4 separate regions of the Homo sapiens genome follow, and regions 1, 3 and 4 are each linked to region 2. The links are contacts of gene promoters, found by promoter capture Hi-C in human tissues and cell types (Jung and others, 2019). All regions are on one chromosome and are shown on one strand. Each heading gives the region's core, a stretch centred on a gene start or on the middle of the fragment in contact. The rest is flanking DNA. Distances are from core to core; before and after follow the strand shown. Region 1 has its middle 34 kb from the start of OLFM4. Region 2 holds the start of OLFM4 (olfactomedin 4). Region 3 has its middle 35 kb from the start of OLFM4. Region 4 has its middle 50 kb from the start of OLFM4.

Region 1 (7,467 bases), core at 1,430-3,929, 33 kb after region 2:
GGAGGCAGCCTCTGCCCACCTGGTGTACAATTCCGATTCCGTGGCTGCTGAGAGCCATTCCTTTGCCTCAGAGATTTGTTCACAGTTAAAATGCAAATATCTTTGGCAAAGAGAATTTATTCAGAATGCTTTTTAAAACTTGCCTGAAAAGTTTGAATAATGAGGAGCATAAAGACTTTGAGGAAAGTGGAGCTTGGTATTGATGAGGAACATCTGGACAGTTTAAGGGAAAGGAAAATGAGACAGAAAGGTTGGAGAGACACCTTTTCCTACCTTTGCTGGGCCTCCTTTCTCCACCCCTTCTCAAGAAAAAACTCTTTTATTTCCCCTTGTTTTTCATGAGTATTAACAACAGCAGGTCGGGTGCAGTGGTTCATGTCTGTAATCCCAGCACTTTGGGAGGCAGAGGCGGGCGGATCACTTGAGTCCAGGAGTTGAAGACCAGATTGGGCAACATGGCAAAACCAAATCTCTATAAAGAATACAACAACAACAACAACAACAACAATTAGCCTGGCATGGTGGTGTATGCCTGTAGTCCCAGCTACTCATGAGGCTGAAGTGATAGGATTGCTTGAGCCCAGGAGGTCAAGGCTGCAGTGAGCCAAGATCACACCACTGCACTCTAGCCTGGGCAACAGTGAGACCTTGCCTCACTCTGTTCATGCTTGTTGTCCTGGTATAATTATTAATAGTGAGCACCTTTTACTCCCAGAAGGCTTCCAATTTGAACAATAAATCCTATAATCACGCTATTTATAGGCACCTCATAGAAAAAGGATATTTGTTTTGTCACTTGTTTCTCTCTTCCTTGCTTTTGGTCTGGTTTTGGGGAAGCTGCAAGGAGACACATGCTTCTACCTTCACATAGCAATTCAGTGACAAATAGAAACATGAATCAAGTGGAAAAAAAAAAAAACCAAGGCAAGCCTAAAATACATCAAACTGCACCAAAAATGCAGATTGAAATGGAACACGTTGTCTGTGGGTCCCTGATTCCTCCTCAGGCCCCCGATGCTGGCTGTGATCACTGCTTAGCACTAAAGCCGCAGGCCTGGCAGCAGGGACAAGGCTTTGGAAAATGGCATGGCAGGCTAGTCTACTTGTGGCCCGTGGGCTGAATGGAACTTTTTTGGGGTACAATATGCTGAAGATGTGGCTGTGTGGTAGTGTAGATGCCCAGTGGGTTCTTGCCCACTGTCTAGACAGTAGGGGTATTGTGTGATGGAGGTACTCAAAGTAGGGGGAGGACAAAGTCATATCTGCTTCCAGCACCAGCAAAGTGAAGGGTGATCACTCGTCCTGGCCTCTCTGTAGAAGAGGGACTTTGGAGATATGTGTACACACACATGCATGCATACGCATGCACACATACACACACACACACACAAAGCAGGCACTCAACATATGGGTGAGCTGATAGTATGACATAGTGTAAATAGATCTGATTTTGGAGGCAATCAAACCTGAGTTCAAATCCTCCCAGCTCCACAATTTATGAGCTGTGTTACCTTGGTCAAATTTCTTAAACACTCTGAGTCTCAGTTTCCTTTACTATGAAATGTGGTAGTTGTGAGGGTTAACTGATATAATATATTCCAGTTTTTAGCACCGTGTCTGCCTCATAGGATGGTCAATAAACGTTAGTTTCCAATTTATCCTCATCCTGTCTTCCAGTTCTAGTACTTAAGAACCTTTAAGCGCAGCAGGGGGAGGCTTACACAAGAGAAAAATGTGCTGTCTTCTCGCCAAGGGAGTATGCCCACAGTCAACCTTTTATTTAGTTTCAGTTTTTATACCTATTACAGGCAGCATCCAGGTCTAGCCCCACTCATCCAACTTCATATATTCCGTAGGGCCTAGCATGGCCTGGCTCCCGGCTTACGAAATGGCAATTGTATGGCTGCTGAACAGAGGAATACAGTTGGGTAAAGAACAGGGAGTGTTTTGTTTACCGGAAACCATGCAGCTCAGAGTTATGTTTTGATTCCTTGAAGTTCCTGCAGGTAGATCCTGTAGTGATTTAGCACGGGTGTTTGTCTTTCAGACACTGCTGAAGGCCTGCTCCTCTTTCTACTTCTTGCTATCCCCAAACAACAAGAGGGTAACAGGATCTGTCTCCCAGAAAACAGCCTGCTCTTGGCCTGTTACTATTGTGCATCCTCTGGGTTTGGCCTTGACTCTCCTGTGTGCAACGCTGTGAGCAGAATATCAATTGGTGTAGAGGAGAAGCAAGCCAGGCACTGCCAGCCCAGAGCCTGCATTATCGGGGAGAAATCATGCTACATCACAGAAAATAACTTCTTTTTCTCACTTTATAAATTAGCTTGGCAATTTCTAGAATGATGAACCCTTAGGCTCACAGATCGTGCTTGTGAAGAGTGGGGAAAAAGGAACCAGAATGCAATGCTCTTTGCAGTTCCAAAAAAGAAGCCTGGTGGGAATTACTCTGGCAATCCCTAGGGTACCCTATTCTCTACCCTCCCTGACTCCACTTTTTTCTCCTTAGTTGCACCCCTATTTTGGTTGCTCTATTGCAGAAAGCTTTGGCTAAGACATGGGATCTCAGTTGGGGCTTCCAGGCTGGGGAGAAGGGCGGGGACCCTGCTTTTTACAGGAGAAGGACCGTGCAAAATGCTAGATTCCTGTGCCTGATAGTCGACTAGCCTTTTCAGATATGGGTTTATCCAGTATATTGATTTTGTCACAGAAGCATAAAAGCAGAGATAATCAGAGCTAGAAATGAACCAAAACATCATCTAGACTCACCCCTTTGCTCCATAGATAAGGAAATTGAGACCCAGAGAGGCTAAGTGACCTACCCAAGGTTTTCACACAGCTGACAGGTGGCCAGGCTGGGCTGGATCAGGAGCCTGGGTGGGCATCAGTGTGCTTCCCCTTCCTTGCTCTGCCTATCAAAGAAACAGGCTTAGGCTTCCCAAGGGGAAAATGGGTGGATTTTTCTCATTTCATTTTATTTCAAAGTAAAAAACACATTCTTATTTGTTCTTATTCTACTTGCAAACTCTAATTACTAGTTCTAGTGTTAACTACTTAACATATTTTACTTAATTAGCTAATTACTAGCAATGGAAAGTAGTTTTCTTTGACCTTTATATCCACATTCCTCCCACCATAAAGAAGTTGGTGTCTTTGGTATTGAGTGGCATTAGCATAAATGGTGAATTACTTGGCAGAAAACCATAGTCTAGCTCCTGAAGCTCATGCTTTTCTCTATTAAACACTCTGTACTCCTTTGTAAAGAAAGGGCAATTTTGAATTGAAAGCAGTACACACATACATACATACTGATCATCGGGGAGAGTTAATGTCGTAACTAAGTATAGAGGAATTGGGGCTCCTTGGGTCTGACTTCAAGTTTGGCTTCAAAGTCACCGGATAGGTGACTTTGAGCAAATAACCTAAGCCTCTATTTCCTCAGTTGTAAAATGGTTGTGATGATTGTGCTTATTTTGTAGTCGCAATGAGGATTAAGTGGAGGTGATATATATGTAAAGTTCTTAGTACCGCACCTGGTAAATACCAAGTCTTCAGTAAATATTTGTTAATACACATGTATCACAGAAAAATTGGGGAGCTCACACAGATATGAAGAAGGAAATAAAGTCTGCCTTAGTCTTAGAGACTGCTTCTCTTCCCATTATGTACAGACTGACAGAAGATATAATTACAGACACATGCTCCTATCCTAATGTATGTATATTTTAGTCAGCTATGAGTTCCTAATGTATGTATAATTTAGTAGGCTGCTTTTTTCATTTAAAATTCTTTCGTGGACAACTTCCCTTATTTTTAAAAATCATGATTTTTGAGGGGAGGAGGTAATTGTGCAACTTTATTGTGGCAGTAGCTAATGAGTACAGGGCCCTCAAATCTTTAGGTTTTATCTCATTGAGTAAAAGTGATTTTTAATGTCTACAAATTATTCCATAGACATATCATAATTTATTTAATCATTTCCCTATTATTGCAAGTTACTTTGTTTTCCCTATTTTATTTTTTGGCTTTATAAACTTCTGAGAATATAAATCTTTGTCTGCACTTTTCATCATGTTCTTAGGATAGATTAAGTACATTATTGGGTCAAAATACAAACACTTGTCAGAATCTTAATCCATACTGCCAAGTTGCTTTGCAAAAAGGAGCAGCGCTTCGCTTTGTAAAGCTCATTCCCCAAAGCTGCACAGGCCAAGGTTTCCTACTGGGCTGTTTTTGTGAAAGGGGTAGTCAAATTCCTAACTAATATCCTTGGTCAATCAGGAGTCAGTTTCCTCTTCCTTCCTCTCCTGGGCTGCGTCTAGGACAGTTGGAAATGTCTCTGGTTTGGGGATCCTTTGGGACCTCCTCCTAAGAAAATCCTGTGTATACTGATTTGGAGGCTACCTAAACCTGAACTTGACCTCTAAAGCTCAGCTAATCTAATCCTAAGTCTTCTGATCAGTGGGATGGCATCCTCCATCATGCTTGTATTTAAAAACTTTCAAAACAGTCAAGCCCGTGGGTTCTTTGCTCGGTCTGCTGTTGGATGGATAATATCACTTCTTTGCTAGAAAGTTACTGCTGAAGTTTACCCTCAAATCCTTAATGAATTTGGTCCTGGCGAGGGTACTCTCCAGGCACTTGGCTTCCCTTCTCAGTGTGTGGGCAACAACCCCATCACAGGGAAGCTTTGCTGATGCCCTCTCTGTGTCCGGTACAGGGAATGTTTGTTACCTGGCTTGGGTATTGTTAAGCTTCTTCTCCATCTTCTCTTTCTTGGATCTAGAATTTACCTTTCCTGGAATCCTTTCTATTCTCATGGCTGATCCTCTGCATTAATTTATGCCTCAAATGTTGCATCTTTTTTTTTTTTTTTTTTTGAGATGGAGTCTCACTGTATCCCCCAGGCTGGAGTGCAATGGCGTGAACTTGGCTCACTGCAACTTCCACTTCTCGGGCTCAAGTGATTCTCCTGCCTCAGCCTCCTAAGTAGCTGGGATTGCAGGCATGCATCACCACACCCAGCTAATTTTTGTATTTACAGTATAGGTAAGGTTTCACCATGTTGGCCAGGTTGGTCTTGAACTCTTGACCTCAAATGATCCACCTGCCTCAGCCTCCCAAAGTGGTGGGATGACAGGCGTGAGCCACCATGCCCAGCCAAATGTTGCATACTTAACTAATTGGTTTCTCTGCTGCCAACCTCTGCTTCCTCTAACCTGTACTGAACATAGCTGGCAAATTAATCTTCTTTAAACATGGTCCTGAGGCGTCACTCTTCACTGATGACCAGACTAAGCATACTGTCAAGGATATCCATTGTGTAGACCCTGTTTCCTGGTTACCCCATTGCATTTTCCACCCAAAAGGCATTACTTGCTGTTCTACAGTGGACCCAATCCTTTTCAGACTTCTTACTTTCCCCTTGCTTAATTGCCATCCCTTTACCCATGTCTCTGTGTTGAAATTTCATCAATGATCAGTGGCTATCCCAAACGCTTCTATGTGAAGCCTGTCTTAACCCTCTTCACTAGAATGAAAGCTTGCTCTTCATGAATACCTATTGCATATTCCTCCCTCTTCTCAGTTTGCTCTGTGTTAGAATGATTTCTTTGGCTGGAGAATTCTCCCTTTGTCCCAATCTTGGCAGATAATAAACTCCTGGAGGGCAGGACTGTGTCTGCTTCCTCTCTGTAGCCCCCGCATCACCTGAGAAGTGCTTTGTATGTGGATACTCACATGTTCTGAGACAGAAGTCCTCAGACGCAGCCCTCCTCTTGTGTTGCCTAAGAGCGGGAGCAGCACAGCTGCCTGGATTTATTGTTTTTCCCAAGAGAGGTGATTATAACACTTTATCTTCCCCTTTTGGCTTTCAGCCAGTGGCTCTGCATCTAGTCTCTAATTTTCTTTTTGTTTAAAGGGTTGTTCTGTCTTCCCAGCCAAAGCAAAATGATGATGGTAATAACGTGGTTGTTATTTCTTGAAAACCTACTGTGTGCTAGACACTGTGCTTTACATATGAGATCTCATTTATTAATCTTCACCAACATTTTATAAATTAGGTACTATTTCCCTATTTTATGGATGAGAAAAGGGAAGCCTGGAGAGATTAAAAAAACATGCACCCAAATCATTGAAGTAGTAGGTTAGAGTTGGAGTCAAGAACTGAACCCAGGGCTGTCAGCCCAAGTCTTCTTACTATGTCCTGCTAGAAAAGGATGACTTAAGGGTGGGGTGGATATCGGACTTGGCTGACTTTTCCTGGGACCTACGACCATGAGGCTTTTGCAGTAGAGGGACATGTAAACCTCTATGGCAGCTTGGTTTTGCTGAGCACTGGCTCCTCTTCATCTGTTGCAGGCCTTAGGAAAGGCCAAGGAGATTGAGTTAAGCCTCTGATCCCAGACATATCACTGCACCAATAGGCAAAATGTACCCTTGATGTTAAATTGTGGGAAACTTGACTCATTGCTATACTATCCAGGTCATCTACTTGCTGGGCAAAGGCAGTTGAAAATGGGTACAGTATATGCCAAGATTAAGACACTCTCGAAACTAGTTATGGTGGGATAATTCAATGCTGCTTTTTAAGGAACTCTAAAAAACAGTACCTTTAGTTGGTGATTGATGTAAAGTAGTTATTTAATAGGCATTAATAAAATAAATGAATGAATTAATGAATATAGGAATGAATTAGTGGTATTTTATGGGTTTTTTTTTAATGGCAAGCGATGTGGAATAATGGGAAAAATGGGATCTGCCAAACATTAGTGTGCTGACCTTGGGTAACTTATTCTCCCTGAGGTTCAATTTGTCACGTGTAAAATGGTAATGTTAATACCCACTGTCAAGAACTATGAGAAATCTGAGATTTTACCTTCTTTCAAGCTAACGTGGCCTGACACATTTGCAAAGATGCTGGCAGAAGACGTGGGTATTTTGGGTCAGATACATGGACTTTATTACTCATGGCATAGCAAAACATGGACATCACCATATTTGTATCTATTTTCTTTGCAAATGGCTCTGATGTATGCTTGTACACAGAGTGAGCTGTGTTAAAGAAGAGGGACCCCAAGCTTAGGTGTCCTCAATTTAAAATGGGCAGTAAGCATGCTTGCCCTTTTCTCTGGCAGAAGATGCTATCTTCTCTTTTTCAGGCTGTTGGCTCCCCACTAGTCCTTGAGAAGATATATTGGAACAAAGGCTGATACTGCCATGCTTGCAAGACATACAGAATGCATGAGACCAGTGAAGGATTATCTCCCAAAATCTACCTCATGGATTTTGTTTTATGAGAATTAAAGAACTAACTTATTTTATCAGTTAGAATAGGCTGGGCAATTGTGCAGCAACACATGACTGTCACAGTGCCTTAAACCATGAAAGATTTCTTGCTAATGCCACATATTCATGGGGAATTGGCTGGGGACTCTGTTTCAGATCAGCCTCACTCCAGGTCCCAAG
Region 2 (7,102 bases), core at 488-2,987:
GAACTGCTTCCCACAGAGAACAATGAACTTTACAGCCCACATTTCTCCCTATCTGTTCTTCTTCACTCTCTATCCATCCATTTGTGGTTTTCCTGTCTCCCCTTCCCCCTCCCCACCACCCCAGTTTCTGAATAGTGTACCAGGGGTTTAAGACCCTGTTTCTCACATTAGCACTGTGCTTATTCTGAGAGTTTGTGTGGAGCTTCTGGGGTGGGGTGGAGTGGGGCATGAACCTTCTCTCCTTGTTTTGAACCCAGCAATCTTACATATTGATCTAGTCTTTAGGAAATTAAACAAACAATGAAAAAGCTGACATTTTTATGGCACGTCAAAAGTCATAAGCAACTTCCCATACAATATTTCATTTAATTCAAACAATTTAGGAATTGTTACAACCCTAGAGGGGCTAAGTGACATGCTCAAGGCCACCGACTCATTGTGACACAGCTTTTTTGTTTGTTTTTGTTCTTTTGAGACAGCCTTACTCTGTCACCCATGCTGCAGTGCAGTGGTGTGAACATGGCTCACTACAGCCGCAACCTCCCAGGCTCAGGTGATCCTCCCACCTCAGCTTCCCAAGTAGCTGGGACCACAGGTGCATACCGCCACACTTGGCTATTTTTTTCATTTTTTGTAGAGACAGGGTCTCACCACATTGCCCAGGATGGTCTCCAACTCTTGAGCTCAAGCCATCCTCCCACCTTGGCCTCCCAAAGTGCTGGGATTACAGGTGCGAGCCAGCATCCCCGGCCCAGAGCTGGGTCTTAATACCGAGACTAACACCTTTTTCTTTCTCCAGGGAAGAAGGCAGAGGTCACAAAGGTGTGTGAAATGTTGAGCAGGGCAAATGGATCCTGGAGCCCAGGGTCAGAGCTGCTGAGCAAGAGAAAATGCATCTTATTTCTCAGTTTTATGAAGAATAAGCTTGAGATCTTGAATGCCTGGCTGGCTCACAAGAAGCTCAGGGGCAATAGAGGTCAAAGTTTTCTGGAGAGAGAAACTGCTCCTGGGGTCCTCCTTGACTGGGTTTGAGGCAGTGCCCTGGCCTGGGAGAGCGGGCACTGGGTCATCGGGATCCCTTTGTTTATTTGGGTGTTTTCTCTTCCCTATATGAAGCATACAGTGGTGAGTACTTGATAGGGCAGAGTCCTACCTGGTTGGCCAGGGAACAAAACGTTGCTGGTCTTTCCTTCAGAGTGGGGTTGTTAGACAACTTTGTCTAGAAACAGTCACTGTAAGGAACAGGTCAACGACAACTTGGGCAATAGGAACTGAAGAGGGAAGCTCAGTCGCTCCTGGAGGAGAGCCACAGTCCCTAAGGCAAGTTCCCTAACTGTCTGTGAAAAGTAGTATTCAGTAAAATGGGGGAGAGCACTAGAAGTGCTGTGAGGCAAAGGACTGAGGGTTGCTTTTCCTCCATGGAGCCTCCAAACTCTGTGTCATCCACAAAGACTACTTTGGTCTCATCTCTTTCAAGGAAGTACCAAGTGGGAAACCAAATATTGGGCTTTACAAAGCACATTTGAGTTAATGTTTGGCAGGGGATATCTGGATCCAAGGGCAGCTCACAGAGTGGGCCTCACTGACAAGGTGTGGGCCATGACTCAGATTCCTGGGTGTCCTGAACCTCCTGGGGCAGTTCACACGTTCCCTGGCCACTCCCTCTTTTCCTACATGCTGGCCATGGGGAAATCACCACTGGGCACTATAAGAAGCCCCTGGGCTCTCTGCAGAGCCAGCGGCTCCAGCTAAGAGGACAAGATGAGGCCCGGCCTCTCATTTCTCCTAGCCCTTCTGTTCTTCCTTGGCCAAGCTGCAGGGGATTTGGGGGATGTGGGACCTCCAATTCCCAGCCCCGGCTTCAGCTCTTTCCCAGGTGTTGACTCCAGCTCCAGCTTCAGCTCCAGCTCCAGGTCGGGCTCCAGCTCCAGCCGCAGCTTAGGCAGCGGAGGTTCTGTGTCCCAGGTGAGGAGGCCCCAGAATCTGAATGAGCTGCATTCATTCCCTTCCATTTGCTTTTGGGTACCTGAATACAATTTCATGGATGGCTAGACCTGGGCACTCTAAAAGATTTACGACTCATTTTGTTAACTATAGGTGCCCCGGAAATGAATTAAAGCCTCAGTAAAATAATTAAATTGTTAGCAAGAGAGACGATATCGCAGTTCTCCAGCTGGGACTTTTGGGAATATCTATGCTTTAGAGGAATTCTCAAATCTGGCTGCACATTAGAATGGGTGGCCGGGGGGACTCTAAAAGTACAGATGCCTGGGTTCTGTACTTAAAAAAATCCTACATAGATGTATACAAATCAAATATTTTAAAAAACCTCTCCCCAGGTGATTCTAATATATAGTCCAAGATGGGAACTGTTAGGGAAAGACTCTGTGAGTTGCAGCTCTGGGAAGTTTGTCCAGTTGTTTTGCTGCCTGGCAGGATCCCGGAATGGTGAACAGTAGCCCTCGAGGGAGTGAGAGCCGCAGTGCCCTAGTTGAAGCCCTGACCATTTCTCTTGGCCTGGTTTATAAAGGAGGTGGGTGTCAGAAATAAGGGGGGAGTTACTGGTCTTTAGCAAAGTGTTATTACCAGTGGACATTCGCCTAGGGGAGTGTTCACTCTTTGCAGTCTTCTTTACAGGGAATCTTCAGGACCATTTCCAGCTCCAAACAACAGTAGCAACAAACAAACAAAACCAAAAGTCATGCATTACAACGAGGCTGGTACAGCTAGGCTAAGTGCATTGAAGGCATAGTAAGCCAGTTCCGTGGGGGATGAGTCCTCTTTGGATCTCCTTTAAAGAAAGGAGAATGGGCTGGAGGGCATGAGAGGTTAGGAGGTAAGAAGCAGTTATTCATTTCACTCTGGGCCTTTCTGCGGGAACCCCACTCTGCAAACCTCCTAGGCTATTTTTGCTAAGGTATAACTTGGGGTGGGGGAGTCTTATCTGGGCCAAAGCTTCTCTCTCTAAGCCTCTAGGATCTTTCCTCACAGGTCAGGTAGCTGCTTACATTATCATGCTTGAATGGAAGGGCAAATGGGAGAAGGGGGAGGAAAAGACTTTTATTTGTTTTATTTTGACCATCAGAAATTACAGATAATAAAAATGTGATAATTAACAAATGATTTGGATAGGGCCTAGATAGAAACAGCAGCAATAACATTTACTGTGTGTCTAATAAATGCCAGGACTAGGTTAAGTACATAATATATATCTTTTTGTTGTTGTTGTTGTTTGTTTGTTTTTTGAGACAGAGTCTCATTCTGTCACCCAGGCTGGAGTGCAGTGGCACGATCTCGGCTCACTGCAACCTCCGCCTACCAGGTTCAAGCGATTGTCCCACCTCAGCCTCCTGAGTAGCTGGGATTACAGGCACCCGCCACCACGCCTGGCTAATTTTTGTATTTTTAGTAGAGATGGAGTTTCACCATGTTGGTCAGGCTGGTCTCGAACTCCTGACCTCATGATCTGCCTGCCTCAGCCTCCCAAAGTGCTGGGATTACAGGCATGAGCCACCGCACCTGGCCTGTATTATCTTATTTAACCCTAAGAGGTAGGTACAATTAATGGTCCCATTTTAGAGATGTGAAAACTAAGGCTTATCAAGGTGAAGTCATTAGTTTTAAGTCACTAAGCTAGCAAGTTATATAGCTCAAAATTAGTCTGTCCATTCTCTTCACCATGTCTGTACATATAGGTTTCTATATTTCCAAGGAGTATAGATGAAAATTGCTTATTTTTTAGTTAGAGGAGGGAGGCTTGGGAATCATAAGTAGGCACAAGGATTCTTTGCAGTCAGAAATCAGTTACATAAGTTTATTCTGTGATACTCAATGATTTCTGGGGATGATCAGAATTGTCTAGCACTCTTTTTTGGACTGAGGTTAACAATAATAATTTATTATGAAGCTCCATCACCAGTCAGAAACCAGCATTTGGGTAAGATTATCAACTATAATAATAGAAAATAAAATACAGATCAAGAAACAGAGAAATCCAGAATGCCTATTGTCTGGTAAAAAGACAGATATTTAAAAGTAGATGAGACATGGTAGTTAAATTGGACTTAGAGGTTTTAATTTTCCTTTTTACTTATCTCTCCCTGGTGAGTCAGTATCACAACTCCAACTTTTTTTTTATACTGGACTAGGAGTCAATTTCACTATCAACCTAATTTTCTGGGGCTGGCTGTCAGCTTGATGAGCTCTTTGGAAGGTGGTAGAAAACCCTTTTATAACTGTCATTGAGTAAGTTCCAAACATATCATTTTCTGTACTTTGAAAATGTTGAGTACCATTATTTTATACCTTGAATCTTTGCTGACACTTAGCCTTGGCTACTAATTAGAGCCAGTTGCAACATTAAATCACCTTAAATGTGAGTTGCACCTTCTGCTGTAAGCACTCAGAGTACTCTCTGCCTCAGACGTCTCCCTCCTGAGGAGGGGCCTCTGCAGGGTCCTCAATTCACAAGACTAGGAAAAGCCTCAATGCTCACTCCACAGAGTAACTGGTATAGTTGGAACTGCAACGAGTCACGTGTTTTCTTGTCATCAGGCTACAAGGCTGGTTTGAAAAAACAAGTAGGGCTTTCAGAGTGACAGTGGGCCTGATTCCTGGGCAGAAATTGAGTCTTAATCATCTCCCTAAAGCCAGAACCTGGCATAGTGTAGACATCAGTAAATGTTAATTGAACACGTGCTTAGGGAAAACCTACCAATATAAGGTGTCTTGTGAGGTACTCAGGGTCCTATTTGCCCTACAGAAGGGGAATCGCATATTCTTCCAAAGGCCAAGGGGACAAGCTCTTGTCTTTGTCTCCCATCCCCCATGCTTCATTCATGTAGAGTTTGGGCATTCACCGCAGAGAGAGACTCATCACCATTAGCTTCATTGTCTTTGAATGCGAGGAGCAGAAATATCTCTAATGGGAGACACTGATCAAACTTATGGACCATTTTGATGTCAGCTGAGCATGCTGGGCTGATGATAAGCAGGATGGAAGCTGGGGGAGTCCACAGCTTTGGGACAGAGATGTTCAATAGAAACCGATGGAATGGCTGACAGCAGGGCTCATAATTACTTGTCTGTCTTTCAAGTGAACTTCAGGACTAAAAGTTGTTAGCTAGTGGTTCCTAATTGACTGTCTAGAGATTGCTTGATGATATCCACTGTTTTCTGAGTTGGCAGAATTTTTCAGAGAACTCTGAGAATGGCCCAACCCTGTTTGTGCAGCTAATTAAACTCCCCTTGTTAAAATGCAATGCAAGATTTTTTTTTTGCTAGACTGTTATTATAATAAGCTATTTCTTCAAAAGTCCTTGATATGTCGGTCTTTTCTGTAAAAGCCTTGGCATGCTTGAGTTGGAGTCTTTCTATCTTTGGAGAAATGAGTAAAGCTGGTTTCAAGGGAAGCTGGCCTCTCTGATAGGTTCCTGGTGTATCTTACCGAGTCTTTATTCATCTCTGGCAAAGACCCTTCCCCTATTCAAACCCTGCTGTCCACCCCTATGTTCGACATAAATCTGCTTGTTTCTCCTCCCTACTCCTGAACTGTTTCCCACGTAGGGATGTGATTGGAAAAGAAAATTGAGACCAAGGTAATAAATTTTGACTAAACACATAAAAAATATGATTGGATACACACACATATTTTTTTTTTCTGCTCATCTTGAAACTTAAATTAAATTAAAAACAACTTAGATGCAAAAGCCTTGATTGGCCCCGAGGCCAGTGATAAAATAAGTCTTCATTATAGAAGCATCTAGACCCAGCTTGATCAGGCATTATGGAGGTTGGTGGCCATTAAATGCACAGGACCCATTACACCACCTGCAGCTGGCTGACCTGAACTTTGAGAGACATGGCCAGAGTCACTTCTGGCTCTGAAGACCATTGCTGTCTCCTTAGAGGTTTCATAAAAAGTCCCTTCAGGCTGATGTTCCACAGGTGAGCTTTGGGTTGGCTTTCAGATGAGATCATTAAAAGGCACAGCAAATTGGCTGCCAAGGGTTACTCTGTAAGGCAATAGTAGTAATAAAAAAATGTTAATTGTGCTGGGATCCTCTTGGGGAAGTTCAAAGGGGACAAAAGAAAAACAGGATCTTTCAAAAGTGTCATTTAAAAATATGCGGTGGCACTGAAGTGTGAGTCTGAATATCTTAAATGAACATAAAATATTTTAAAATGACTTTTTCTGCAAATGGTAAGCTGGAAAAAAACTTTTATTAAAAAAAATTGCACAAAACCTTCAAGCTCATACGCTATTCACTTTCTAACAAATGGCTGGTTCCCATTTTGAAGGATGTTAATTTGCAATTTCCCAGGCGATGAGAGGATATGAATTTGCATCATATATTTTCACTGTAGCCCACATCTTTGGTGATTCCCTCATTCTGATGAAAAGGAATTGGATTGGGTTGGGGTGAAGGTGAGGAAGAGAAAATGAGCAGTAGAAGGAAAGAGAATGTGACATTTTCAGATCACCTACTCTGTGCCAGGGACTTGGCTCACATTACTTCGTTAATACTGAGGACAACCCTGTGAAGTAGGTTATCTCTATTTTACAGATGAAGGAACTAAGAATTAAGGAGATTTCACATCTAGCAAGTGCTAGAATTGAAATTCAAACTTAGCACTCTCATAGCTTCTTTATTTCCCTTTCCTTGCATAGAGATAGGAATAATCTCCTTTAAGACTCCAGAATGGCCGGGCGCGGTGGCTCACGCCTGTAATCCCAGCACTTTGGGAGGCCGAGGTGGGTGGATCACGAGGTCAGGAGATCGAGACCACCCTGGCTAACACGGTGAAACTCCGTCTCTACTGAAAATACAAAAAATTAGCCAGGCGTGGTGGCGGGCTGTAGTCCCAGCTACTTGGGAGGCTGAGGCAGGAGCATAGAGTAAACCCGGGAGCCGGAGCTTGCAGTGAGCCGAGATCGCGCCACTGCACTCCAGCCTGGGCGACAGAGTGAGACTCCGTCTCAAAAAAAAAAAAAAAAAAAAAAAAAGCCTCGAGAATGGGGAATCTTCCTTTAGGTAAAGTCTGCTGGCGTAGTGGTTTTCGTACAACCAGTGGCGATGTGGCTAAACGCTGGGTGGTCCCC
Region 3 (7,293 bases), core at 3,869-6,368, 34 kb before region 2:
TACAAAGAAAATCTGTTTTCTACAAGAAACTTTATCTTCTTACCTTTTATATTCATGTCTTTAATTCATCTAGAGTTTATCTCTGTATGTAGTGTTAGGAAGGTATCCAGTTTATTTTCCTCTATATAGCCAGGCAGTTTTTCTAACAGTATTTACTAAACCATCTGTTTTCCCCGTTGATTTTTGATGCCACATTTATTGCAAAATAGGTTCCTATGTGTCTATGATTCTGTTTCTGAGTTTCTTGAACCCAAACCATGTTGTTATTACTGTTTAAAGAGTGTCTTAAGTCTGCTAGGTCAAACACTCTTTCTTAAAGGTCAACTTAACTATGCATAAGCATTTACTTCTTCACCTAAATCTTAGGTTACATTTGTTGAGTGTCTCAGAAAATCCAAATGGGATTTTGATTTGGATTGCATTACATTTATTGGTTAATTTGGGGGAAATTGACTTCATCAAAATTAAAAATTTCTATTCAGACTACACATATCTTACCAAATACTCATATTCAGAATACACAAAGACAGAAGGATAATATCACAATGCACTAAAAGGAAATAACAAGCCACCCAGAGGCACAGAGAAGGCGCCCACACCTGCACTGGCCAGCACCCCACCCTACATCAATACCACCTCCCGTGCAACAGCACGAACCATCCCCTTCCTCTCAATGCCTGTGGATGTACCAAAGAAGAAGGGAAGCTTGCAAGGCCTCCAGTCTGCTGGGATCTTCAGGCCTCTTTCTTGTTTTCCAATTGTGGGGCAGTGTCTAGGAAAGTTATGCAAATATGACTTGCTATTTTTAATTTCTTGAAAAAGTCTTGAGGGCTTCCTGGGAGGTATGTTTACCATTTTGAGGTGATGGCTGGTTGGTGCTTATTGTCCTGTGTATCCAATGGATAAGGGGCCTGTGAGGCTAACTGTAAATGACTTGGCCCCTTGGTACGGTACTGATATTCTATACAAAGCCAGCAGCTCAAGTGGCTGTGCCCCTGCCCTCCAACACACTGCCCCCGGATGGTTTTACTTGAGACAAACCTCTTTTACTTTAAAGAAGGTTTTTATATTGGAACTGAGACTTCTGATAGAGAAATATTTGCTTTGTTTGATACGATCTTGGCAAAGAAGGTTCATTTTACCAGTTGCTGGCTAATGTCCTAGCTTGGGAAGAGCAATAATCTCATTAATGAATTATCTCTTACTTACAAGACAAACTGGACTCATTTGTTTCCTTAAAAAGACGGTGTCATTGATTAAAGATGGTCATTAATGACCACTAATAAATGCATCTGTTCACCATTCAAAGATGTTTGATATTTGCATTTAATGCTAGGAAGCAAAATAGACAGTTCTCTGGATAAACCATATGTCTCCAAGTTATCTTAAGGATGGCCTCACAGTTCTAAATGGTAATAGTAAAAAGTATTTAAATACACCTGAATTGAATACATAGGCATAGAAATATCCACTTGTAACTCTTAAATTGGGAAGTGATGCTAACTCTTTGCTAAATTATATGCAGAACCTACTGCCAGTGATCATGCTATTGAGGATACAATTCACAAGCATGTTGATATCCAAGATAATGAGTCTGACTATAACAAAGCACTTAACTGAAGCTCCACAGCCAAAATGGAATCTATCATGCCAATTCAGGAACCTAAAACCAAAGTCGAATGCTAATTTTTACAAAAAGGCATCAAAGTTTTCATTTTCTAAAAGTCGACTGAACTGGGTTGGATTGAAACCCAAGCCTATGCATTATTAAAATAATTGAATTGGGCTATCAAAAAAAATCAGACTGAAGTTGAATCAGACTTCCATATGTTCTTGATTATAGATAACATGTTCCTCCTTTATAAGTTAAATTGGGGTTTTTGAGAGGGAATGGCAGTTGTGCTATCAGACAATGAAATGGTGGGACTCAATGCGATTAGGCTTTGGAGGGAAGGCATAGATGTGCCGAGAATCACAACGTGCTCCCTGGCCCTCCTGTGGTGACCGTGAGTGTCCGTGCTTCCTTTACATGCCATCTATGTGTCCATCTAATAGTCTACAAGATAGTGTTGGCTGAATTCAGGGTTAGTCATTGTAGCCTGGCTGGGACTGACCATGTGGGGGACAAAATCAGCTGGACTGACTGAGTCACAGGCCACTTATTTGGGGGCGTAGAGCCACATCCTGCCGGTTGTAGTTTTCATGAATGGCCGAGGAAACATTTGCAAATGACATGGCTTCAGAACTCCCACCGGCTGTGCTATGTTTTCCGGGTGAGCCTGATTGCTTTTGGCTCTACCCAGTGCAGTGTTTTCCATCAAATCAGTCTTTCCTCTGCGAGGGTATTTATTACGTGCCATTTTGAAAATAAAATAAAAGGGATGTGGAGCAATCATCCAGCAAAACCATAGAACATTTTATTATCCTAGACGGTGAGGGGTCAGGTTTGACATACAACGCTGGGAGCGGCGATGGCCGAACAATGTGCTACTAAAGCGTGATTTAATGAGGCTTGGAGGATTTAGTTCAGTCAGAAAAGTTCCACTCTGTCTTGGGCAGAGGAGAAGCTGAGCTGGTGTGGTCAGCTGACCTAGCGGCTTCTCACCAGGTAGGCCTCCGCCGGCAGCCTCTGTTTGTTCGGATCCCAGACACAGTTGTCAGGGAGACTTGAGTGCTGGAAACCTCTGACTGATTTAGTGGACCCCAAACATGGCGCAGCTTCCCTGTTGCTTCTGTTTTACAAGGCCAGCAGTTAATTCAACAAAAGCCTGAATTCATTTCCCTCTATATGCATTGACTGTCAGCTAAGAGCTGGCGGCCATCAACTTCATTAAAAAAAAAAAAATCCCATTTCACTGGAATTGAGGGCCTTTGCCCTCTGACACATGGCAGCATGCTCTCTCGGGCAACACTTTTTGTTTCACACTTTTCCAGGAGAAAAACTCATTAGCAGATAGTGGCTGATCATCAAGTCATTGCAAGTAATCATACACATCATTCTGATCCAGCTGAATTAAATCCACCAGTTATACTTCATTATTGTGTTGGCAGAACCTCAGCCTTTGAGTTATGAACTAAGACACTCAGGGACAAGTTCAAGCATCCTTTTGTTATCTTCTTTATTGAGTTAGATGTGTTTATTGAATATTTATCTAGTAACTATGGTATGCTTGGTTCCATGGGGAGTGAATGGGGTGTAGAAGAGCTGAAAGCCCTGGTTACTATCCTGCAGGGGCTGATGATCTAGAAGGTGAGATAGAACACACATAAAGAGATAGGTAACGTTGCACTGTTACATAACCTACAGGCTTTGGGGGAGATGGCCTTGGCCTAAGATAATATGGTAGTTATCAAGTGATACTGTGTCACAGAAACTTTTATAAACATAAAGGTTTAGGTTCCCCATACCAGAGAGCTTGACTCAACTGATCTGTGGAAAGGCCTGGGCAGCAGTACTTGGAAAAATCACCCTAGGTGATTCCAGTGTGTGGCTAAAGCTGAGAACCACTCATCTGGGAGAGAGATGGCTTGGTATTTGGTTTGTTTTGCTTTTTAAAATTTAGGTTCTACTCTGGATTTTGTCCCTCTCCAGGTAAATAGGTGCTTCCTTATATACATCTCAATTATTGCCTCACTATCTCTCTATAACAATCTCTTTACAAATCTATTCATCCAGCAAGCCTGGGAGCCTCTCTGAGGGAAAGGACACAGAGTTCTAATCATCCTTTTATTCTCGGAACTTGGCACAAAGAAGATGCCCCATGAATGTTTGTTGAATGAAGGAGTGAAGAATGGGCTGGTTGACCTTGAACATGATACATAAACTCTCTCCACTTAGGAGCTTTTGTTTCCTGGTTCATAAAGACAAAGGGAGGGAGAGATTTTGCTCTCTCTCCTTTACCTTATAAACATTCTGCACAGCTATATCAGAGGTAGATGCCTTCCCCTGATGATTTTGAAGCCCTTTTAGAATAAAGGTGCAATGCAAATTCTGGGCATTCTCATGGATAATTGACCCTGCAGTAGTACTTTTGTTCTCCTTTTTTGTATCAAGACACAGGTGAATTTTGATGAGCTTGTAGAAGCACTGCTGCTGGTACAATGGTCTACTAATGTCATCTAAATGAGATGGATGACTTTTAAAATATTTGTAATATAGCTAGGGCCCAGAATGTGAGAAGGAAATAGCAGCCCAAGAGGGTAGTCACAAGGCCCCAGTAATGACCCAGGGGTGGGGGCTGGGGGCTGGTGGTCTCCCCACAGTCCTACTGGCTCATTGACCTCTAAGTCATTCCTCTTTTATTAAAATGCTCTTTTCAAATCCTATTTGCCAATGCATTTATTTACTTGCTGGGGAGGGGTTCAGGAGTGAGGAGGCTAGTGTTTCCAAGAACATGTTTAGGACACCAGCATTTCTAAGAGACCTGTGGTTAGAAATCATCTACAGTGACAAATTAACCATTGATGTCTTTTTTTTCTTCTATGAATTAGTTTAACTGCATTTACAAGCACCTCCCTCACTTTTGCCTTACCGCAGCCTTTAGTGTGATAAAAATTAACACTCAAACTCTAAGCCACATATACTAGATTACAGGAAGCCTCTGCTTCTCAGAAAACACATTGGCCATTTAGGTGCTGTAAATATTGTGCTATGGGTTTCTGAAATCCAGGCTTCATTTGTTGATTTGGGGTTTAGAGCCCAGAGACGAGACTCTTGCAATGTCTTCATCTTACCTCTGCTCTCTGAAGGCTGAGCTGAGGGCTGACCACCCTCAGCTCACTGAGAAGGAGCTGACCTTCTGCCTTATATTTAATTAGCAGATTTTCTCCTTTGAGATCAAAATGCCCTTTAAAAAATGTTCAGGTGAGAAAACTAAGGTCCAAGGGCATCAAAGGTCACCCTTTAAGTTTTTTTTGTCTCTCTAGAGTGCGTCTTTTCCCGCGGTGCCTCTTGCCTATTTATTTTGGAAGAAAAAATAACATGAATTCAGACTGTCACTTGGGAAATCGGTATTATTTAAAGGTGAATTAAACATTCCCCTCTTCTAAAACTACTCTGGGGAGAGAACAAAGGAAATGTCACATGATTGTGGTTAACACAAAGGTTTTTTTTTTTCTTTTTTCCTGGTGTAATGGTAAGCATGTCATGATGAAGGCAGGTTTTGTCAAGACAGCAGGACATAATCAGCGATAGTAATTTCAAGGATTTCAGAGTGAGCTGTGTGGTTAGATGGAAGTCAGTACCCCAAAGCATCAGGCTGGAGTCAGTTCCTAATGTCACAACACTTCAACTTCTACCTTTAGAGCAGGGTGATTCTGCATGTCAAATCTTGAATTTAAATGAATGTGAAGCTCTGTTGGCAAAACCTCACTCCTCTTTGCAGCCACAGCTGGGCAGCCACCAGAGAGTTTTCAGGCTAGACATGTTTTCCCCAACATCTGTCAGCTTAGCTAAATCAGAGCTCCAAATGAACAGTGTAATACCCAAGATCATTATCTGGATTTGTGACACTCCCTCCTACTTCTCTCTGGAGATTTGGGATTCAAAGTGAAAAACAACATTTGTAAGGGATCAGGAGGGGGAGGATTTTCATCTTTATTATTATTACTAAGTAATAATACATTTTCATTAACATGGTTTTAATAGTATGAAACAAGAGAAGTGAAACATGCCCTCTCCACATCAACATGTTCCCCAGTGCCTTTGGCTTAAGGTACAGTATCTGCAACTCATTCAATCCAAGATAAACCTATTAATTAAGCTTGAGTCTACAGGTGCGGTCTACACAGCTGTAATTTTCTGTTCTGAGCTAATGGAAAATTTGCAGATGGTCTAGGGGTTTAGCATGTTTTCGCATCAAAAAGATGTGGTCTGTGCTCCAGGTAGAAGGAGAGAGCTAATCCACTAATCAAGTCAACAAATATTTATTGAGTGCTACTTGATGCTCAGCTAGATGCTAGTGTTGTAGGGGATCCATGATGAGGAGAGCTTTTGCTTTTAATGAGGAAACATGACTCACATTCAAAAGCAGCCTGGCATTGTGGACAGAGCACAGCATCTGGAATGAGGCTGACCTGGTTTAGAAATCCAGCTTAAAAGTGGTATGATCCTGGAAATTTCCATTTCACATGAAAGATACCTCTTTTCTTTATATTAAAATAGGGATATTCGTACCTTTAGAGTTGTTGCAAGCATTAGCAATAACATTTGTAGCAGAACTGGCATGTTGGAGACACTCCAAAAATATTATTCTAAGATGCTATATCATATAGCATGTTATAATTTGGCCCTTAATAATAGTTTTATAAAGCCTCAGAAACTAGAGAGAACAGTTCCAGCCAGAATAGATGGGTAACCACTGAGCATAACTAAGGTAGCACTTGGAAATGACAGAATCAAATTCCCGGAAGGGATCTTATAGGTTTATTGGCCCAATCAAGTCATTATAGTACAGAAACAGAGGCTCAAATAAGTTCACTTATCCAAACAACTCAATAGTACTGGGAGCAGGTGCTGGGTTGGACTACACATATGACCCTACTTTGGGAGACGGTGCTATATAGAATGGTGGTTCCCAAGCCTGGTGGAATATCAGGATCTCTTATGATCTTTTTTAAAAATTGACTTTCAAGTGAGCCTGATTCAGGAGGCTTAGAGTGAGGCTCAGAATGAGGCTCAGGAATATGTCTTTTTCAGTGAGTTCCTGCCAGCAGATCCACCCACTGAAGCAGCATAAAGAGCCTTGAACTAGGAATCTTAGTCCCAGCACTTCCCGTTTGGCTGTGTGACTTGGGCAAGGCAACCTTTCTATTCTTTGCTGTCTCATCTGTCTCTTGAAGGGATTTCTTTTGTTGAGATTCTGGTCACCTCCATCTCTCATAATTACTCCATTACACCATTTCAGCTCAAACTGAAATTGAAGTTTGAAAAGGATCAGGCTTGGAGATAAGGAGAAGGCTAGCATTAGTGGTATAGGGAAGGCGAGACTGAGTGTAGCCTGGCTGGGGAGATTTCCTATAGGAAAGGAGAGGAAGACTTGGCCACGGGGATGGAGGAGGTTTTCAGTATACAGAATTCTGCGGGGTGGATATGGGTTTTAGGCATTGTTTTATAGAGGAGCACTTCCCAATATATATACATATATATATTTTTGGAACAACTGAGCCTTTGAGATGCTCTAAAAGAGATCTTGGTGTCAGTAGGTTTGGGAGATGCTACATACATGTACTCTTCATGGTCTAGGAGATTCATGATGCATATTGAGGGCTCTGAGAAGTCTGATTAACCTTACT
Region 4 (7,798 bases), core at 5,039-7,538, 52 kb after region 2:
AACTGGAGCGGGAAGGGCCAACATGGTAGGGCCCAATGGGGCTGGGAAGTGCTGCCGCAGCTATATATAGCTGATGCTTATGGAACTCTTGCCACGTGCCAGCATTTAATGCATGGAACAACAACCCCACCACTAGGCACGATTATTATCCCCATTTTACAGATGATTAATCTGGGACAAAGAGTTTCCATTAGGAAGTCTCCCGAAGTCCCACAGCTTTGTAAGTGACAAAACTGGGACGTGAACTCAGCCCCTCATTCTGGCTCCAGGATTCCCCCTGGGCCTCTGCCCTGTTGCCTCCCCAGAGCCCGTAAAGCTGAGAGTGCCCTGAATACGATTTGTAAGTTCGGATGCATGTTGGGAACAGGGCATCGGTTCTCTGATCCACAGAAGCCCTGCTGAGAGAGGTACTCAGGGAAGACAAGCCAACTAGCCTGGGTGAAATCTCTCCTGCATGCACACACACCTGTTTATGGGTAGTCTTAAACATTTCACGGGGCTTAGACAGGCAGGTGAGAAATAGCAGGAAGACCATAGGGGAAAACTGTGTAACTAAATTAAGGAATTTTGAAGACAGGTGAAGAAATGAATATCCAAATGCGTTGCACTTGCTGGAAGGGATCACACAAAGTCATCTGATTTTCATTTACCCTTAGACATTTTTTAGGCTTGCCTATCTGGGCTGAAGTTAAAGTCACGGTCCTCCCTACTGTGTCCCCTTCACTTAGGAGCTCTCTCTCTGCTTCTGGCGAGGGCAGCTGACAGTCGCAGAGGTGATAATGGGTAGACAGACTCCAGAATGTGCCCTGGGTCCACACCCGCCTGCCTTGCCTCTCTAGGGAGTACAGAACTGTGTAAATCAGCAATGAGAAGGGCTTAGCGATTAAGGAAGCTGACACCTGGGTGATTGCTCCATCCCCAGTGGTTTCCAGACCTTTTTGAGCTGGAATCTCTATGTTAAATCAAAATCTCACCCAGACACCCAGTGTGTGAGGGTCTGGTGGAAAACAGGGAGTCTTGGAGCCCTGCCCCCTCTATGGTGATGAAATCCTGGGGGCAGAGAAAAGTGGGTTGAAAGTCCCAGTAGGCAGCTGTCACAGTTTCCCTTTATAATTCAGAAAACGAGCTTGGTCCTATTCTACCTCCATTCTTCTCTTCTGGGTGCCTGTAATCCACTGGTTACAAACAGGCATAGCTAGAGCACAGGCAGGATTGAAAGGTGCTTCTAAGGGGCCAGATTTAACATTCTACTCCAATCTTTCCTAATAAATGAGGGCTGCTGGTGGTGAAAAGTGTTTGAAAGGTAGAATAGTTTAGAGGTTGAGAGTATGAATTTTGCAGTCAGCTCAGCCACTTATTAGTTGTGTGACTCTGGGCAAGATTTTTAGTTTTTCTGTGCCTCAGTTTCTCATCTGTAAAATGGAAATTAGATAATAGCAAAGTATCTCATTCGGTGGTTGTGAGACTTCAATCGATTAATCTATGTGGCACACCTAGAACAGTTCCTGGCACATGGTAAGTACTCAATAAATCATCTTTTCTCTCCTCCCATAAGTGAATTTCATGACACACTGAGGTGTACATGACAGACTTTCTGAAAAGCAGCTATTTTTTTTTTTTTTTTGAGAGGAAGAAGAGCAAACCAGCATTGGAAGGAAGAGAAAGGAATTTCTTGAAAGGCAGAAAAGCCACAGAAAAAAGAGCCCATAGTATGTGGAAGACATGACTGACCACTCACCACCAGATCTTCAGCAATCTAAGAAATGGGGCTGTATCTTGCATGAACCTAAGGGAAGAAAAACTGGCTGGAATTTTGTATAACAGTTTTGTTTTATGAACCAGCACTACCTTACCCAACCATTTTACTGTAAGTTGTTTTCTTTCTTTTTCTTTTGGAGTTGGACTCCTTTTTATTAGGTGAGATGCTGAGATGTTCGGGGCCTGTGGCCCTGCTCCAGGTGCTAGGCTGGAAACGCATCATGTGTTCTGGCCAGAAGACTTCCTGAGGGGTTGAAGAAGGCTGCGGGGCAGAGATGCCAGGTTACTCTGGAAATCACTTGCCTACTAAATATAGTGGATGATTATGCAGTTATTCCATTGATTTTTTCCTAATCACAGTTTACTGGAGGCCTTAACCTTTAGAATTCTTAACAGCGGGGGGCTGGAAAAGCTGTCCTGGTGTCCTGTCACAACAAACATCTTCGAATAGTAATTAAGGCAACGTATTGTTACCTTGGTTACACAGAACCATCCCCAGAGCGTGACTGCATGATGTCCAGAGCCAGGGGTGTCAGGAACTAACCCGACCTCAGGCGAGCTGAGGCAGGACATGAGTGGGCCCGGGAATCTGAAGGCTAAGGCTGGGCCTACTACTGATATAAGGGAGCATAGTTAGGGGCCCCTATTAATTCTCCAGTTTCTTTGGAAGCTGAGAGCAACAAAAGCTAAGTCCAACATGAATGTTAACAGGATCTAGTGTTGGAAACAAAGGAAATGATGAACTTATATAATCATAGGATATAAGAAATCACACATAGGGCAGTTATAAGACATATATAGGACAGGACATCATAGAAATAAGCATTATTAAGGGAGTGATAATACTGTAAGGAAGATATGATGGTCCGAGACATATTTCTCTCTTGTCCCTCGGAATTTTGACTTTTGACAACACTTTGATTCTAGAGTCTGGGTCCAAATCGTTTAGTTTGATGAGGGTGCCTGGTGGCATGGGGAAGAAGTGCTGCAGCTGGAAGGATGATTTTGTTGATACTGACTCTCGTGGTTATCTTGGCTTTTGGTTTGCAGAGGGAGAAGCCTAGGGTCAAGATCACTATATTAGTCCGTTTTTGCATTGCTGGAAAGAAATACCTGAGACTGGGTAATTTATAAGAAAAGAGATTTAATTGGCTCACGGTTCTGCAGGCTGTACAGGAAGCGTGATGCTGGCATCTGCTCAGCTTCTGGAACGGCCTCAGGAAGCTTACAATCATGGTGGAAGGCAAAGGGGGAGTGGCTACGGCACTCATATGGTAAAAGTGGGAGCAAGAGAGGGGGAGGTGCCACACACTTTTAAATGGTCAGATCTCAGGAGAACTCACTATTGCAAAGACAGCACCAAGAGGATGGTGCTTAACCATTTATGAGAAATCCACTTACCTGCCACCAGGCCCTACCTGTAACATTGGAGATTACATTTCAACATGAGATTTGGGCAAGGACATACATCCAAACTAAATCAATCACATGAGTCAGTAGTAGATTCCAGAGGAACAAAAGGATAGAGAGATGCTGGCTGCCTAGAAAAAGCAGAAAGAAGTCCAAAAGGACTTCTGTCTCCAACCCCCAAAGTTTCGGGGGGAGAGCAGGATAATTTGAAAGGAGCTCAAAGCTGCTCTGAGGCTCCTCTGAAATCACCTAGTTTGCAATTTTTTAAATTTAACAAATATTTGTTGAGGTTGCAGGCACTATTTTGAGTTTGAAGGATGAGGAGTAGGGAAATAAATCAACATATTCTCTGACCATAGTTTAAACTTAATGACCAGTATAGTTGACGTAAACACAAAGAACACAAGGTGGTAACGGGGAAGTCTGGCTTATTTGGAAGTTATCCAGCCTCATGTTCTCAACTTGGAGCACTGGGGTTGAGTCCTCCTTCTAAATTCCATTGTGGCCTATGGTCCATGTTGGTGTGTTCACCCATGTCTCAGGCTGGGGACAGGTTGATAGAGAAACTGTTATGAAGCCTTATCTTCCCTGCTTAGTGTGGGAAATTCTACCCAGGTCTGGGGGACTTTAATGTTTATAACAACTTACTGTTTTGCAAAACTTGTCTTTCACTTCAGAGAGGCTATCCCTACGTACTCCTAGTCATTAGGTTTCCCAAAGCTTTACATCATGGCACTGATTTTTGGCCATAGTACCTGAAAAAATGAACTCATCCACATCTTTATTCTTGTTCCTTTGGGGAAAGAGAACTAGAAAAGTGCAGAAGGGCCATCGGAAGCCCAGCTGCCCATTTAGTCCTTCTTCGTGTTTGCTTTTGAGGAAAGGCAGCCAGTCCAGATAATTAGAGTCAGAATTCTGATGAAGGATTTGTTCAAAGTTCAGTCACAGTCTGGGATGGAGAACTCTGCATGCCCACTTCCCTTGTTAATAGCTTTGCTGACCTTCTCCAAAGAAAAAGTCATTAGAATGTTGAGTTATGATCTGTTTCTTGTAAAATCTCGCCAGTCACCCATTTATAGCTCTGTATTTCAACCAATTCTAATTACCTTTTAGAATATACTTCTCCCAGCCCTTGAAGAATATTGTAAACCCTGAACCATGCAATCAAGCATACTTCTTGGTTAGAAAGCTGATTGTGACCTAATATACACACAAATCTCCACAAACACCCCCTCCCGTTTCCCAAGAGCCACATAATCATCTATAGGGCTCTCCAGGGCTCCAGAGAGCTGGTGTCATTTGGTTACTTAATGTTGGAAGAGGACATTTCATGGAGAATGTTTTGTGTCAGAAAACTAATGAGGAAGAGCAAAACACTCTTGTGTCTCTTGCTATCATTTTCTGTATCTCCCTGGGGAAGCCCTCTCCTTCCTTCCCTTTACTAAGCATTGTCTGAAGTTAGTGTCCATCTTCTTCCTCCACCTCTGGAGAGTGAGGTGAATCAGATCAGAGTCCATGGCGGAACTTGAATTATGGGGTTCTTGCATCAGTCTTGCTTTGTTCCTACAAAATAGTCACAGACTTAAAAAGCTATCTCTGTTGCCTTATAAAGTCAAGAGCTCCTTGGTACATCTTGAACTTGGCTGTGTCTAGTGGATTTCTCTCTACTAACCCTCTGCTATATATTAGTCTCTATCATTTGAGACAATTCAAATGACTCAAAGATTTTTGGAGGTCTCTGTATTTTTTAAGAAATGCTTTGAATAGGATTAAAATCACTAGCACTGCTGAGAGGAAACATTTTTATAGACTTTCTAAATCTCTCCACTGCTGAGAAGAATTAAAAAAAAAAGCAGCAACATTTCTCTTGTCTCTTTATTTCTAATCACTTTTTCCTTCTAACGGGACTGGAGCACCATGAGAAATGTCGGTCTTTTACGGCAAGGACTCATTTGCCCATAACGAACACTGAGTACAAAAGCAAATTAAAAAAAAACAACCCTATGCTTAGAGAGACCATTAGGAACGATTTGACATTTATTGAACAACAGATGGCGATTAAAAACATAAAAGCTAGATTGCCTTGCTAGAAACAAAGGGTAGTTCTACTGAGGAAGTCTAACGTTTCAATTAAAACACGTCTCAGTGTCAATTAAATCATATGAAGATAAGCCTGAAAATGGTTTCTAGCTGCACTATAATCAATAGTGCAGTTAAAATCCCCATCAAGAAGCACCCAAGTTTTTAGTTTGACAGTTTGCTAAAAGATTAGCCAGAGCTTCAAGAAACCATTTCCTTCAGTGTAGGGTTCAAAAGGTAAACATTTAACCAGGAGTGCTTCATATGTATTAAACAGATTTATTTCCATGATGAGAAGAAAGCCTCACTGGCTTTGCTTTGTTTCAAATCTCATCCGCTTTTCAGTATGGATTAGGCATTAGTGAGGGGTGGAAAAATAACCCCATTATTTCCACAACAAGGATCTTGTTTTAATGACGCTTATATTCTTTTGGGAAGCAGTGAGTTGGAGTGGAGAGACAGAGGTGATTTGGTAGTGAGACAGACCTTGAGTTGAATCGCAGCCTGGTCACTTTTAGCTAGTGTGTTGAATGATCAGAATCTGTTTTCTCATTTGTAAAATTTCCATACAATATTACCTTTCTTGGGTTGCCTGGTACATTCTAGGGACTCAGTGAATGAGCCCCTATCTTTAGCTCTCAATTGGCTGAACCTTGTGACACAATCTATTTTGGCAGATCTTACCAAAACTGAGCTCAGTGGATACCAGTTCTGCTACATGTTTTATGCCAAACGGTTACTGTGTGTTTTGGGTTGAAATGTGTCCCTTCCAAATTCATATGTTGAAATCCTAATGCCTAGTACGTCAGAATGTGATTTTCTTTGGAAATAGGGTTGTTGCAGGTGCAATTAGTCCAGTTAAGATGAGGTCATACTGGAGTAGAGAAGGCCCCTAATCCAGTATAAGTGGTGTCCTTATTATAAAGGAAATGTGGAGATAGACACCCACACAGGGAGAACACCATATGGACATGAGGCAGAGATCGGGGGAATCTACAAGCCAAAGAAGGCCAAAGATTGCCAGCAAACCCCCAGAAGCTGGGGAAGGCAGGAAAACAGATTCTCCCTTACAGTCAGAAGGAACCAACCCTCCTGACACCTTGATCTTGGTCTTCCAGCCTCCAAAGCTGGGAGACAATAAATTTCTATTGTTTAAACCACCCTGTTTGTGGTGCTTTGTTACAGTGGTCCTAGCAAACTAATACATGATGTCAAGTACATTTGGTAAAAACTGGTACAGCACCCTGCTTTTGAAGATTCTTAATGGAACACTTTACCAAACTCAAGTCTCTGAGATATCATACTAATAAGAATTATCTCCATCTTTATTCAGTGTTTCCCAAACATTTGATCATGGAAGACTTTCCTCCCCTGAATAAATACCGATTTGCTTACTTTGGGAAAAAATACTCTGAAACATTTTGCCTTTAAGCCTACCTCCACCTCAGCCCCCCAGGCTTCTGCTTCAGCTCTGGCTCTCTGGCCAGCTGCAACGCCGCTTAACCATGTGCTCAGCACCATTGCAGAGTGAATGGTGATCCTTGTCCTTTGCTCACTTTGTCGACAACCTTCCCTGGTGCATTTTCTCCCTTTCCCCACTTCTGCTGTCCAGGTGTGAGGTGTTGCTTGAGAAAGCCATGAAACCCAGTCAAGTTCCATGGTAGTCCAATGCAGTGCTTTTTGAGCTGAGTCTCCACTGCTGCAGCTGCTGCTGAGTCCTTATATTTTTGTGTTTCTCTATTCATCATTTGGCGTGTGGCCTACTGTGAGCCAGTTCTCTTGCTAGTGATTGGGAAGGTAGGTGAGGAGCAACAGGCACCGAGGCATCCCTTCTCTCAACTGTTGATGGCATTGCAGAGGAGATAACCTAATAGTGTGAGAGAAAAGCCTTAACAAAAATACCTTCATGTTGAAACAGAAAGGGGAATAAAGGGCGAACAAGAGTATGCTAGCCAGACAAAGGTAGAAGATTGTATTTCAGGCAGAAGAAATAGCACGTGTATTCAGGATATTTCAAGTCCTGGTCAGATGTTAGGTTGCAAGTTTGGGGAGAATAGGATATGAAGCTAGGAAGGAGACAGGGATATAAGCACTACAGGCTAAAGTACTTGCCATTTATCTGGGAGGGAATGGGGAGTCATTGATCACTGCACAGAGATGAGATTTTCATTTATGAAAGGTCACGATGGGATTGTAAATGATATTAATTCTCCTTGTCATTTTTGGTGCGTTCAAAATTGTCATTCAACTTTCGTTTTTGAAAATGTTATATAAATGTTGTGTAATTATATTTTTATTAAAAAGATTAAAAAATTTAGAAATATATGGAGAAATTTTGAGCTTTTCTTATTACTCTCCCCATCAACTTACATCCCCTCCCAATAGGTATGCTTTATTGTTCAGTCCCTCATTGATCTTTCTATGCATCTGTGGGTATGTATACACGGACACACACATATACATGCTTGCATATACACACACATATACACACATTTGTATACACACATTGTGATTCAAATTTGTTAATTAAAAAACACAAATACAATCATGC

Evidence for each region. Contacts are between HindIII fragments. The study calls those that stand out against the background at their distance.
Region 1: a contact is called between a fragment that was not itself captured here and the fragment with the promoter of OLFM4 in region 2, in 1 of the 25 tissues and cell types used here (spleen).
Region 3: a contact is called between a fragment that was not itself captured here and the fragment with the promoter of OLFM4 in region 2, in 5 of the 25 tissues and cell types used here (dorsolateral prefrontal cortex, heart right ventricle, mesendoderm cells and 2 more).
Region 4: a fragment that was not itself captured here is called in contact with the fragment with the promoter of OLFM4 in region 2 in 4 of the 25 tissues and cell types used here (H1 embryonic stem cells, aorta, dorsolateral prefrontal cortex and 1 more).

What each region holds. Positions count from the first base shown.
Region 1 is chr13:53,059,116-53,066,582 of GRCh38, forward strand. No RefSeq gene overlaps it. Among named protein-coding and RNA genes, the nearest start is that of OLFM4, 34 kb to the left of the region's middle. The HindIII fragment of the contact is 4,084 bases long and covers 638-4,721 here.
Region 2 is chr13:53,027,076-53,034,177 of GRCh38, forward strand. It overlaps OLFM4 (olfactomedin 4), which reads left to right and starts at 1,738. Exons shown (of 5, transcript NM_006418.5): 1 at 1,738-1,965. The coding sequence starts at 1,762. The HindIII fragment of the contact is 5,150 bases long and covers 220-5,369 here.
Region 3 is chr13:52,989,677-52,996,969 of GRCh38, forward strand. No RefSeq gene overlaps it. Among named protein-coding and RNA genes, the nearest start is that of OLFM4, 35 kb to the right of the region's middle. The HindIII fragment of the contact is 3,771 bases long and covers 3,234-7,004 here.
Region 4 is chr13:53,074,695-53,082,492 of GRCh38, forward strand. No RefSeq gene overlaps it. Among named protein-coding and RNA genes, the nearest start is that of OLFM4, 50 kb to the left of the region's middle. The HindIII fragment of the contact is 5,706 bases long and covers 3,436-7,798 here.